Linked DNA regions of Homo sapiens: all the other regions are linked to region 3. Evidence: promoter capture Hi-C in 16 types of primary human blood cells and fetal thymus (Javierre and others, 2016). All regions are on one chromosome and are shown on one strand. The core of a region is centred on a gene start or on the middle of the fragment in contact, and the rest is flanking DNA. Distances in the headings are between cores, read along the strand shown.

The links. The method cuts DNA at HindIII sites, captures the fragments that hold promoters and counts their contacts. A CHiCAGO score of 5 or more calls a contact.
Region 1: a contact is called between a fragment that was not itself captured here and the fragment with the promoter of PAQR3 in region 3, in 1 of 17 cell types (neutrophils). The highest score is 5.1, in neutrophils.
Region 2: a contact is called between a fragment that was not itself captured here and the fragment with the promoter of PAQR3 in region 3, in 1 of 17 cell types (monocytes). The highest score is 5.1, in monocytes.

What each region holds. Positions count from the first base shown.
Region 1 is chr4:78,554,641-78,558,539 of GRCh38, forward strand. All of the region lies in intron 2 of ANXA3 (annexin A3), which reads left to right. Among named protein-coding and RNA genes, the nearest start is that of ANXA3, 4.8 kb to the left of the region's middle. The HindIII fragment of the contact is 9,514 bases long and covers 1-3,899 here.
Region 2 is chr4:78,607,794-78,611,548 of GRCh38, forward strand. ANXA3 (annexin A3) reads left to right here. Exons shown (of 13, transcript NM_005139.3): 13 at 2,263-2,654. The coding sequence ends at 2,322. Among named protein-coding and RNA genes, the nearest start is that of LINC01094, 36 kb to the right of the region's middle. The HindIII fragment of the contact is 3,917 bases long and covers 1-3,726 here.
Region 3 is chr4:78,937,792-78,941,648 of GRCh38, forward strand. It overlaps PAQR3 (progestin and adipoQ receptor family member 3), which reads right to left and starts at 1,647. Exons shown (of 6, transcript NM_001040202.2): 1 at 1,249-1,647. The coding sequence starts at 1,433. RefSeq lists silencers at 1,177-1,246, 1,337-1,826. The HindIII fragment of the contact is 16,646 bases long and covers 1-3,857 here.

The DNA of each region.
Region 1 (3,899 bases), core at 1,035-3,534, 380 kb before region 3:
AAAATATTTTTAAAAATGCATTGTAAAGTTACATAGTTAAAATAACTTATGATGACACCAAGGCGGAAAGGTCAAAATCAGATAATAAATTTAGTATATAATTTGGGAATTTATTATATGAAAAAGATGACATATCAGAGAAGAAGAGACGGATTATTCAATAAATGTTAGGAAAACTTCTAGCTGTTTGGGGAAAAAGTAAATCTGTATTCCTTTTTCTCCTTACAATAAAATAACTTCCATGTGGATAAAATACAGAAATGAAGAAGATGAAATATGAATGGGCCGGGTGTGGTGGCTCACACCTGTAATCCTAGCACTTTGGGAGGCCGAGGTGGGTGGATCACCTAAAGCCAGGAGTTTGAGACCAGCCTGGCCAACATGGTGAAACCGTGTCTCTACTAGAAATACAAAAATAGCCCGGTGCGATGGCAGATGCCTGTAATCCCAGCTACTCAGGAGGCTGAGGCAGGAGAATCGCCTGAACCTGGGAGGCAGAGGTTGCAGTGAGCTGAGATCATGCCACTGCACTCCAGCCTGAGAGACAGAGTGAGACTCCGTCTCAAAAAAATAGAAAAAGAGAAAGAAATATGAATGGATTGAAGAATATTCTTGGAGTGGGGAAGATGCTTACAACTGTGACACAAAACCAAACGCCTAAAAGAAAAATATTGATCTATTTTAACTACATACAAGTTTATCACTATGACAGCCAACAATCCCATTGGTAGAGGCAGAAGACAGCTCGCAGGGAAAAAATATTTGCAGCACATTAGACAAAAGACTTATTTCCTTAACATACAAATAACTTGAATAAATTGGTTTAAAAAATGAACTTGACAGAAAAAGTTGTAAGGGACATAAACAGGACATAAAAAGAATTATAAATGTCCAATAACATCAGAAGGTGCTACAAGGTTGGACACAGTGGCTCACACCTATAATCCCAGCATTTTGGGAGGCCAAGATGGGAGGATCATTTGAGCCCAGAAGTTCGAGACCAGCATGGGTAATATGGCAAGACCCAGTCTCTTAAAAAAAAAAAAAAAAAACTTTAAAAATTAGCTGAACGTTGTGGGGTGTACCCATGGTCCTAGATACTTGGGAGGCTCAGGTGGTAAGATCGCTTAAGCCCAAGAGGTGGAGGCTGCAGTGAGCCATGTTCATACCACTGTACTCCAGCTTGGGTGACAGAGTGAAACCCTATCTATTAAAAAAAAAAAACTCCTGCATCTCAGAATTGAAAAAAACATAAATATCATGATGAGAAACACTTTTCTACTTAAGAGATTGGTGAAGGTTAAAAAAAAAAAGTAATGTAGAGGATGTGGCAAGGTGATATTTTTATTCTCTGTTCATGGGAGAGTAAATTTGGTACACTTTTGGATAGTATTTTGGCAATATCTCTCAGTCCTTAAATGCACATGTCCTTTAAACCCAGTAATTCCACTTGTGGGTATGTATCTTATAGATAAACTTGCATAAGGTTGAAAAAATAGGGGCCCAAGTACATTTGTTTGTATTAATGAAAACAAACATGCAGACAGCATAAATGTCCATCGATAGGGTAGGAATAAGTAAATTACTCATTTATAACTTACAGGCATTTTTATGTGATCATTAAAATGAATGGGAAAAAAGTGGATCAGCTGTATGTGAATTGACATTAAAAAAGTCCCAAGATGTAATAATTTAAAAAATCAACTTATAGAGTAATATGTACAGAGGGATTCTGTTTAAAAGAAAGAACAAAGAAAATAAAAAATTTACGGAAAGACTATTACATCAAAACTTTGTGGAAAGGTGGAATTGTGAGAAAGGAATTTTACTTTTCAATATATCACCTTCTGTACTGTTTGATTTTTTTTTTTAATCATGAGCATACATTATATTTTATAAGTAAGGTGGAGGGCAAGTTTAAAGAAAAGCCTGTGCAGAGATGTGACCATCCCTTGGCCTGGCGTATGGATGGAAGGTGTGCTGTTGGAAGGCTTTGTTTGGCCCAAGTTACTCCCTTCTCACTGGCTAGGAGGCTAAACTCTCATCTTTCATCTGAAATCCCTGCTGCTTTTATGAACATATCATAGAATCAGATGAAAAAAGCATCTCTCCAAAATGCTGGTGTTAAAAAAAAAAGTCGCCCTCTGGCCCTCGCCCATGAGTAAATTAACATGGAATTATTTGGGCAGGCTCTCCTGCTGACACCTTCAAAGGCGTGGCACATTTCTGAAGGGCTAGGAGAGACCCAAGTGCGTGTGATCAAGGGTGTATTCATTTCCTATTGCACTATGACAAATTATCATAAATTTAGCAATTTAAAACAACATCCATTTATTATCTCACAGTTCTATATGTTAGAAGCCTGAAATGGGTCACACAGCACTAAAATGAAGGTGTTGTTGGGACTGCATTCCTTTCTGGAGACTTTGGGAAGAATCCTCTTCCAAGCCCTTTTAGGTTGTTGGTAGAATTTAGTTCCTTGTAGTTGTCGAATTGAGTTCTTAGTGCTTGCTGGCTGCCAGCAGAAGCTGTCTTTGGCTCCTGGAGGTCTCTGCCTGTCCTTGTATGTGGCCCCTGCATCTCAGAACCAGCAATGATGCATCAAATCTTACTTATGCTTGGAATCTCTTTGGCTTTTCTTTCTGGGGGATCTCTTTTCTGCCATTCTCTTCTCCCTCCAGCTGAAGACATTTCTCTGCTTTTAAGGGTGCGTGTGATTAAATTGGGCCCACCTGGATAACACGGGCTAATCCCTGTGTTTTAAGGTCTGGAACCTTAATTATGTTTGCAAAGTCTCTTTCATCATGAAACACAATACATTGACAATTCCCAAGGATTATGATGTATACATTTTAGGAGGCTGTTGTTCTGCCTACCACAGGGGCTAGGAGTATGGCTACATCAGGGATGGTAGCATTTGGCATCAGATAGCAGGAAAGAGGTGGGGAGGGGCCAAAAACAGGAGGCTAACCTGAGCCTGGAGGGCAAACCCACACGTGGAGAAAGAGGCCCTAGCCAAAGAAGGGCTCCTACTGTCTCTGGGTTTTTCTTTTTTTTTTTTTTTTTTTCCTGTTTACCTCCTCTCCCTCAATTAAAGAACTAATACTTATGAGTGGCTCAGAGAGCAAACATTAGGAACAACTCAGAACTGCTATGGAAAACAAGATAGCAATTCTCCAAAAAATTAAAACTAGAACTACCACATGCTCCAGCAATCCCATTTCTGGGTATATATCCAAAGGAAATGAAAGCAGGATCTTAAAGAAAGGTATCTATACACCCATGTTCACTGCAGTACTTTTTACAATAGCCAAGAGGTAGAAGCAGCCCAGTTTCCATTGACAGAAGAATGAATAAACAAAATGCGGTACACACACACAATGGAATATTATTCAGTCTTTTAAAAACACATGTTGTGTGAGAGGAAGAAAACCCTGTCACATGCTACTATGTGGGTGAGCCTTGAGCCCAGTATGTTAAGTGAAAAAGCCAGTCCCAAAGAGACAAAATACTGTATGATTTCATTGATAAGAGGTATCCAAAGCAGTCAAATTCATAGGAACAGAAGGAGACTGGTCGTTAGGAATGAATAAGGAAAGAGAAAAAGAGGAGTTGTTTAATGTGTAGAGTTTCAGTATTGAAAGATGAAAAAGTTCTGAAGATGTTTCAAAACAATGTGAATATTCTAACCACTACTGAACTATACACTTAGAAATGGTTAAGATGGTAAAAACCCTCAGATTTCCAATTGTAAACATTCTTATCACAAAGTTTTATGTGTTCTTTTTTTCTCTCTGCCACACAAAACCACATACACACTCAAACATAAATAAGCAATCAAGTCATTGCATTTCTACAAAACTGTATACGTGATTATGTGTATGATTAGTTTATTACAG
Region 2 (3,755 bases), core at 518-3,017, 330 kb before region 3:
CTTGAGCCTGCCTTTCAGGTCAACAAGCATGTGTTGAGTGTCTCCTGTGGGCCAGGTGCTCTGCTGGAGCATTTACCTTTAAGACCCCAGATCAATAGGGTCTTAAAAGTAAATGCTCTAGAGACAGATATGGGAAGAAGCAAGAGGGAAAGAAGTAATAAGGCATTTGTTTGATTAGAGGGTCTACCTTGGGGAATATTGAGAAATAAAATCCAAGTAGCAAGATGAGTTCAGTTGAAAGAGAGCTTTGAGATCAGCGAATTCACTCATTCAATTAAAAATATTATCAAATGCATATTATGTGCTAGGCTCAGGGTTACAATTATAAGCAAAGGGGGTAGGGTGGGGGAAGACATTTTCTGCCCTTATGGAATTACAACTATGTTAAATGTAAAGGAAAGTGACATTGTGCTAAAAGATCCTACAATAGTAGGACTTGACTTAGAGGAAAGGCTTCTATGAGAAAGTCATGATTCAGATCTGGAAAATAAGTAGATATTAATAAGGCAAAATGTATGGAGGTAAGGGAGCCAGTAGAACATTCTAATAAAAGAAATGACAAATGGAAAGGCCTCATGGTGGAGGAAGCATAATGAAAAATGAGGATGTGGGGGCCAGATCATGCAGGACCTTTTTGGCAATGTTTAAGGAATTTTGGCTTTAGCTTAAGAGTAAGGGGAAGCCATTGAAGAGTTCTGGGCATGAGCTCTTGAAGAGTTAGTATCAGGATCATGAAAAGATCCCTGTAAGATCTTCTTATTCTGGAGAATAAGAAGGGCTCAAAAGATATTTAGGAGTTGAAACTTAAGGGACTTGGTATAATATCTTGGTGTGAGGAAAGGAAGATAGCAAGGATGACACTCAAGTTCCTAACTTGGAAAACAGACAGTGGCGCCATTCCTTGCAAGAGGATCAGGTTTTAGGTTGTTTGTTTGTTTGTTTGTTTCCTTTTCTTTTGGGGGAGTGGGGGGAGGTTTATGAGTTTGGTTTTACATGTATTGAGTTTGAGATGTCTTTGAGCCATGTAAGACATGTGGAGAGGTCAAGTAAGTCATTAGCGGTGTAAATATACTTTGAGTTACTTGGATGTATTTTCTTGACTAACTGGTAGAACGCCTAATTGTTTACAACTCTGATCAGAGATGTCTAGAAGGAGCTCTTTTAATACAAAGCTGGAGCATTGTTGACTTGTCAGCTCTGCTATTGCAGAGCAAGACAGGAAAACCAATAGCATAAGAACTAAAATCTATATAAAAACGAAGAATATTGTCATATATTTTGTGAAACAGACAAATGAACAAGAAATAAAGAAAACAGAAAAATATATATAAAGGCCTATTGTGTCTTACTATGAAAGTAATGCTTAACTTCTTCACTAAATGAGCCTTCTCTGAGACTTCCTTTATATTACCACTTTCTCTAATATTCACCCCAGTAACAGCCATTCCAAATGTGAAACTTAAGTGATAAGAAGAGCTCACTGGTTGGGTTACCTCAAATAAAATAAAAATAATGTGAGCATCTTACACAATCCAGGTTGAAAGCCAAGTTTTACCTCCTGTGAAGTCTTTTGCGTTACAAACTTGGTATCTTTGCCCTTTAAGCCTCAACCTCACGTAGTATCTTTTCTGGACAACAGTCTATTTTTGGTTGGCCTTGGGAAAAGGAACTGATAAACATATTCTTTAAAAATGTGGTTCATTTCACTTTCCTAAGTTAGGCAGTGTAGCAGGGTATTAAGGAGCCAGGATATAGGGATTCAAATCCTGCTTTTGTCACTTATTCTCGATAAGATTTGAGGCAAGTTTCCTAACCTGTCTTTCTCATTTTACTTATCTGTTAAATGGGGGATACGTATAGTACCTATTGCAGAGAGCTTTTAAAAGGGTTAAAGTAGTTAATACACATTAAGCCTTTTGAATAGCAAGTGTTCGATAAATATTATTAAAACTAAAATTTGAAGTTTTTATAGAAATCAATATTATGTAAGTGATGCAATCTTATTTTATTAAACCAAAATTGAAATTTAACTGCAGTATATCAGGAAGAATCTAAATATTACTTACAGTGAAGAAGATGCTGGTCAGAACGTAATTACACTCAGGTATGAATGAATGATGGAATTGCAGGTATGTTTTACTAAATGGTATAGCTCATGAGTCTCACACCCAGGTGAATTCCCTAGTGCTATAGGATTTGATTCATTTATGGTCTCCCATTATTTATACTGTATTTGTTCTTCATTGATTTTATTCTTTGCAGTCGGATACTTCTGGAGACTATGAAATCACACTCTTAAAAATCTGTGGTGGAGATGACTGAACCAAGAAGATAATCTCCAAAGGTCCACGATGGGCTTTCCCAACAGCTCCACCTTACTTCTTCTCATACTATTTAAGAGAACAAGCAAATATAAACAGCAACTTGTGTTCCTAACAGGAATTTTCATTGTTCTATAACAACAACAACAAAAGCGATTATTATTTTAGAGCATCTCATTTATAATGTAGCAGCTCATAAATGAAATTGAAAATGGTATTAAAGATCTGCAACTACTATCCAACTTATATTTCTGCTTTCAAAGTTAAGAATCTTTATAGTTCTACTCCATTAAATATAAAGCAAGATAATAAAAATTGTTGCTTTTGTTAAAAGTAATTTCTTTGTTTGCTTTCAGAGCTTGCCAACATTGTTTGATGCCTGGTGCCAACAACTAATATTTTAAAACATGTTTCTGTATAGAAGCTGTTACTGCTTCAGTTTATCACCTTGTTAATCACACTTTTTTGAAAGAAAGGAATAAGATGAAGATGTATGTGACCCTGGCCTACCCTTTGTAGTTGTGATCAAGCTATAGGAGTGGTAATGCATGATAAGTTATTTCAGCTTTCAGAAAACATCTGCTGAAGGATTAATCTAACCACTTCCTGTCTGAATGGCAAGCATGAATTATGGTTGCTTCATGCTAAATACTACTTTCCCAGAATGGGCATTTAGAATCAAGCCTCTAAGGTTTCCTTTTCTCTTGAGTTGGCAAAACTATGCATTTAAAGAATCCATCATGCCATCTTTGAGTGGGACCTAATATGAAATACCTTGACTGATATGAAATAGATAAAGTGAAAAAAATTCCAGTTAGAGTTATTTTCCTGGACCAGAATAGAAATGATCGTACTGGCCATGTGCAGTGGCTCACGCCTGTAATCTCAGCACTTTGGGAGGTTAGCAGGCGGACTGCTTGAGCCCAGGAGTTTGAGACCAGCCTGGGCAACCTAGTGAGACCCTGTCTCTGCCAAAAATACAAAAATTAGCCTGGCATGGTGGCACATGCCTGTGGTCCAAGCTACTTGGGAGGCTGAGGTGGGAGGATTGCTTGAGTCAGGAAGCTCATTTGGCAAGTTAGTTCTGTAATCAATACTATAAATGTCAGTCATAACTAAGATGATGGCAGGAGATAATGAAAACAACTACTTAAATATTTGGGAGATAAAATTGAGTAAACATGGTATTCAAAGTTACCAAGTGTCAGTCAAGTATGCCTTCACGATTTTAGTGTAAGTGATTTAGTGAGTAAGTATATCACGAAGCAATAAATCAATGTTAATACTCATAGAGTGCTTACTATGTATTAGGTACTATGTTAAACAGTGTAGTATATTTTAATTTGTTAATCCTCAAGGCATCTTACAATGTAGATACCAACACAGATATAGAAATGGAAATGGAAGCTTAGAGAAATTAAGTAACTTGTCACT
Region 3 (3,857 bases), core at 397-2,896:
ACTCCATGAGATTTGGACCCTAACATCAGAACGCAGAAGACCACTGCTAGTTGAGTAGAAAATATTTAAGGCAATTCACTGCTTGCCCTATTCTTGTGGAACTCCAGATCCACAGCAGAACTCAGCTGTGTAATTTACTCATGCACAGGAGGCACTGGGGAGGAAAACGGTAATTACGCTTCAAGTTGTGAATCCTAAGGGCCATCCATTCAAGCCAAGTAGGGATGGGCAGTGATGTCACCTTGTGACCATGAGTCACAGAAACACTTTCATGGCAGGACAAAAGGAAAGAAGGGCAGGAAAAGACAATGCTGGAAAAATCAAGAATCAGACATGTGGTTGCCGCTTGAGCAATTCAACAGCCCACATTCTGGCACTAGGGTTTGCCACTACAGCGACCTGGAGCTAACCAACACCTGTATCTTAATTCTCCTGAAGCAGAGGTCCTGTATTTTAGTACAGGTAGTAAGTTTGGACAGTTACTCCAAGAACTAGAATAGTTATTTTTCAGTTTTGTTTTTTTAAAACACGGATTTTCAAGGGACTGTGGTTTTAAAGGTTTAAAATGATAAAGAAATTTCTTTCTTAGAGATGCTTCTGTGGTGCTCTAGTGGAGACTGGGTGCCCGTTATGAGCTCTCTTTACCACAGTACTTTTCCTACACAGCATTTTTTCCACAATGGTTATTATGTAATTGTGTAATTATCTATTTAATGTCTGTTACCCAGGCTACACCTTAGTAGCTTCATGAAAACAAGGGCCATGTTTGCTTTTTTTTCTGCATGGGCTCCATAAGTATTTGCCAAATGAATAAATCTCGGGTGTATATGTTAACTTGTTTCCTATTATACAGGCACTTATCTGGCCCAAAGCTACTGAATTCCCACAGTGTTGCTCTAAAAAGAAAGGTATACACCGGGCAAATATGGCTCAGCCCCATTTCAATATATATCTCAATGAGCCGAACAAACCGAATAAAGGATGTAAAAGCCCTTTGTAAAGAGCAAAGCGTCATAGGAGAGCTGTAATTATGATCACTGTTACTATCATGATTATTCCGTGGACCAAGTACCCCGGCCAGGTAAGGGGAGATAACGGGGGAGGAGAGGCGGCAAAAAGGGATGAAAAGGATGGGGCGGCGAGGAAATGATGGGCAAGCAGAAAGGCGGGGAAAGCAGAAGGGGGACCAGACAAAAAGGGTGTAGGTGAGAGAAGGGGGCACTCCAGGCGGAGGCAGCCAGACCGTACCTTTTGATACACAGCCTGGACGGCAGGTAGGCCCGGTAGCCGTCGGTGATGTACGGGTTGTCCTTGAGGGACCCGGGGATCTGCTCGTAGGTGTACAGGCGGATGCCACGGGGCACCAGGACCGGCCAGTACTGGTAGCTGCCCAGCTCGATGTAATGCGCGCTCTTCAGCAGCTTCTGATGCATCGTTCCCGGCCGCCGCCGCTCCCCGGCTCGGGAGCTCCCCCAGGTCCCGCCTCCCCGGGGAGGGGGCTTCGCCGCTGGCGCCCCCGCCCCGGAGCCCGCGGACGCTGCGCGAGGTCCTACCGCGCTGCCGCTGCTGCCCAGGGCCCGGCTCTGCGCTCACACCGGCCACTGCCGCCAGCGCCGCGGCGGACCCGGCAGCGTCGCAGCCTCCTCTGACGTCAGCGCGCCGCGGCGGCCCCGCCCCTCAGCCCTAGCTGGGAGGGGCAGGGTGCTGGGGCGCGCCCGGGTGTGCTCGAGCGTGCGCTGGCGGCGGCCCGGGCTCCCGGGCGTCTCTCACGCTGTGTTTTGGCGGCGCCTGGGGTCTTCGTTTGCATATGAGAAGAGCCGAAAGCACAGAGCTACAGGCGAATACAAGTGGATTTTTTTTCTTTTTCTGTTTTTTTATTAGAAGTAATAGTTGCTGCATTTTGAAAAATCAAGAGGAAAAGAGTTAACAGGAAGAAAAGTTCGAGGTAATTACCGTTTAGTTTATGCTTGGAATTACACACACTTAGTGTCAGAAGGGACTTTGAGGATTTCTAAGCTGAAGTCAGCTCTTAGCACGATAATTGGAAAGAGAGGAAACCTGATGCACGTGGAACATACACCAGCATCGAGCACATCCTGAGCCATAAAGGAAAGCCCCCGTGCATTCAAAACTCCGACCCCTTTCAGCGTTATGTTCTCTGATCACAGTAGAATTAAACTAGAGTAACAAGAAAACTAAAAGTCTCCACGTCTGGAATAGGAGCAATACACCAAATATTTCAAGGGCTGATGAAGAAATCACAATGGAAATGAGAATATCTACTTAACTGAATAATATAGAACATATTAAAAAATCCTGTGGAGTGCGGCTATAGTAGCGTTTACAGGAAGTGTTGCAGCTTTGTTTCTGGCTATTTACTGTAATGCAAGTGTTTACTTATAATGGCAACAGGGCAAAACATCAGTTTGAGTACCGTATGTGTATAATAGAACGCTTAGTCCATTGTTTGGCATTGTAAGGGCAAGAAAAATATCTTGTCCTCACTTATCACAAGGTTCACAGCTGACATTCCTATGAAAAAAATTAAGAGAAGCCAGGCGCAGGTGGCTCATGCCTGTAATCCCAACATTTTGGAAGGCCGAGGCAGGCGGATTGCTTATGCCCAGGAGTTGGAGACCAGCCTGGGTAACATAGTGAGACGCTGTCGCTACAAAAAAAACCAACCAAACAAACAAAAAACAAAAATTAGTCGGGTGTGGTGATGGGCGCCTGTAGTCCCAAACTATTCTGGGCTGAAGTGAGAGGGTTGCTTGAGCCTGGGAGGTCGAGGCTGCAGTGAGCCATGTTTGTGCCACTGCACTCCAGTCTGGGTGACAAAGCGAGACTTTGTCTCAAAAAATAAATAATAAAAATTAACAAGAAAAGGGATAATAAATTCATTTAACACAGTTTTATGTGACAGAGGAGTCTTCAGAAATGAAGACACAAAGACCCAGGAAAAAATGGGCTTTTTATGCTAAGTCTGATGAAAGGAGTGGATAGTTGTGGAGAAACATGATTGAAAGGGGGCATCATCTAATGATAATAAACTGAGGGGGGATCCTAGCTAGCAAGGCCAGTTCATTCAAATTCTTGGCCTCAGAGTATGGGGCAGGAACTCTCTAGAATGAGGGTTTTATGACCTAGTTTCAGGTGAGGTAAGTCAGAACTCCTTTGTGACCACGGAAAGGCAGGGACAGTCAGAAAGTAACCTTACTAGATTTTTTGTTGTTGTTGTTGTTGGGGGAAGACAGAGTCTCACTCTGAAGCCCAGGCTGGAGTGCAGTGGCACAATCTCGGGTCACGCAATCTCCACCTCCCGGGTACAAGCAATTCTCCTGCCTCATCCTCCCGAGTAGCTGGGACTACAGGCACCCACCACCATGCCCGGCTAATTTTTGTACTTTTCGTAGAGATGGGGTTTCACCATGTTGGACAGGCTGCCCTTGAACTCCTGACCTCAAACAATATGCCTGCCTCAGCCTCCCAAAGTGCTGAGATTACAGGCGTGAGCCACCACGCCCGGCCCCTTACTAGGTTTTATGGCTTCCTTTAGGGAGAGAAATTCTAGGTTGTAAGACCCACTTGGGAAGAACAGGAAAAGGAAGAAAGGAGGACGGAAAGAAGTTCAGAGAGACCTTAGTTTTGAGGCCTTCCCAGTCTCCTTTAAAGTACTCAGCATGTCAAAGCACCACACTTTGGGGTGGGTGTGGTGTTCTGAACCCTGACAACATACAATAATCACTCATAATACCTATTATTATTATGCTAGTAATATTGGTTGATTTTTGAGAAGCAGTATGGCTTAGTGATTAAGATATTGGACTTTGAAGCCATTTACTTAAGTTCGAATTTGT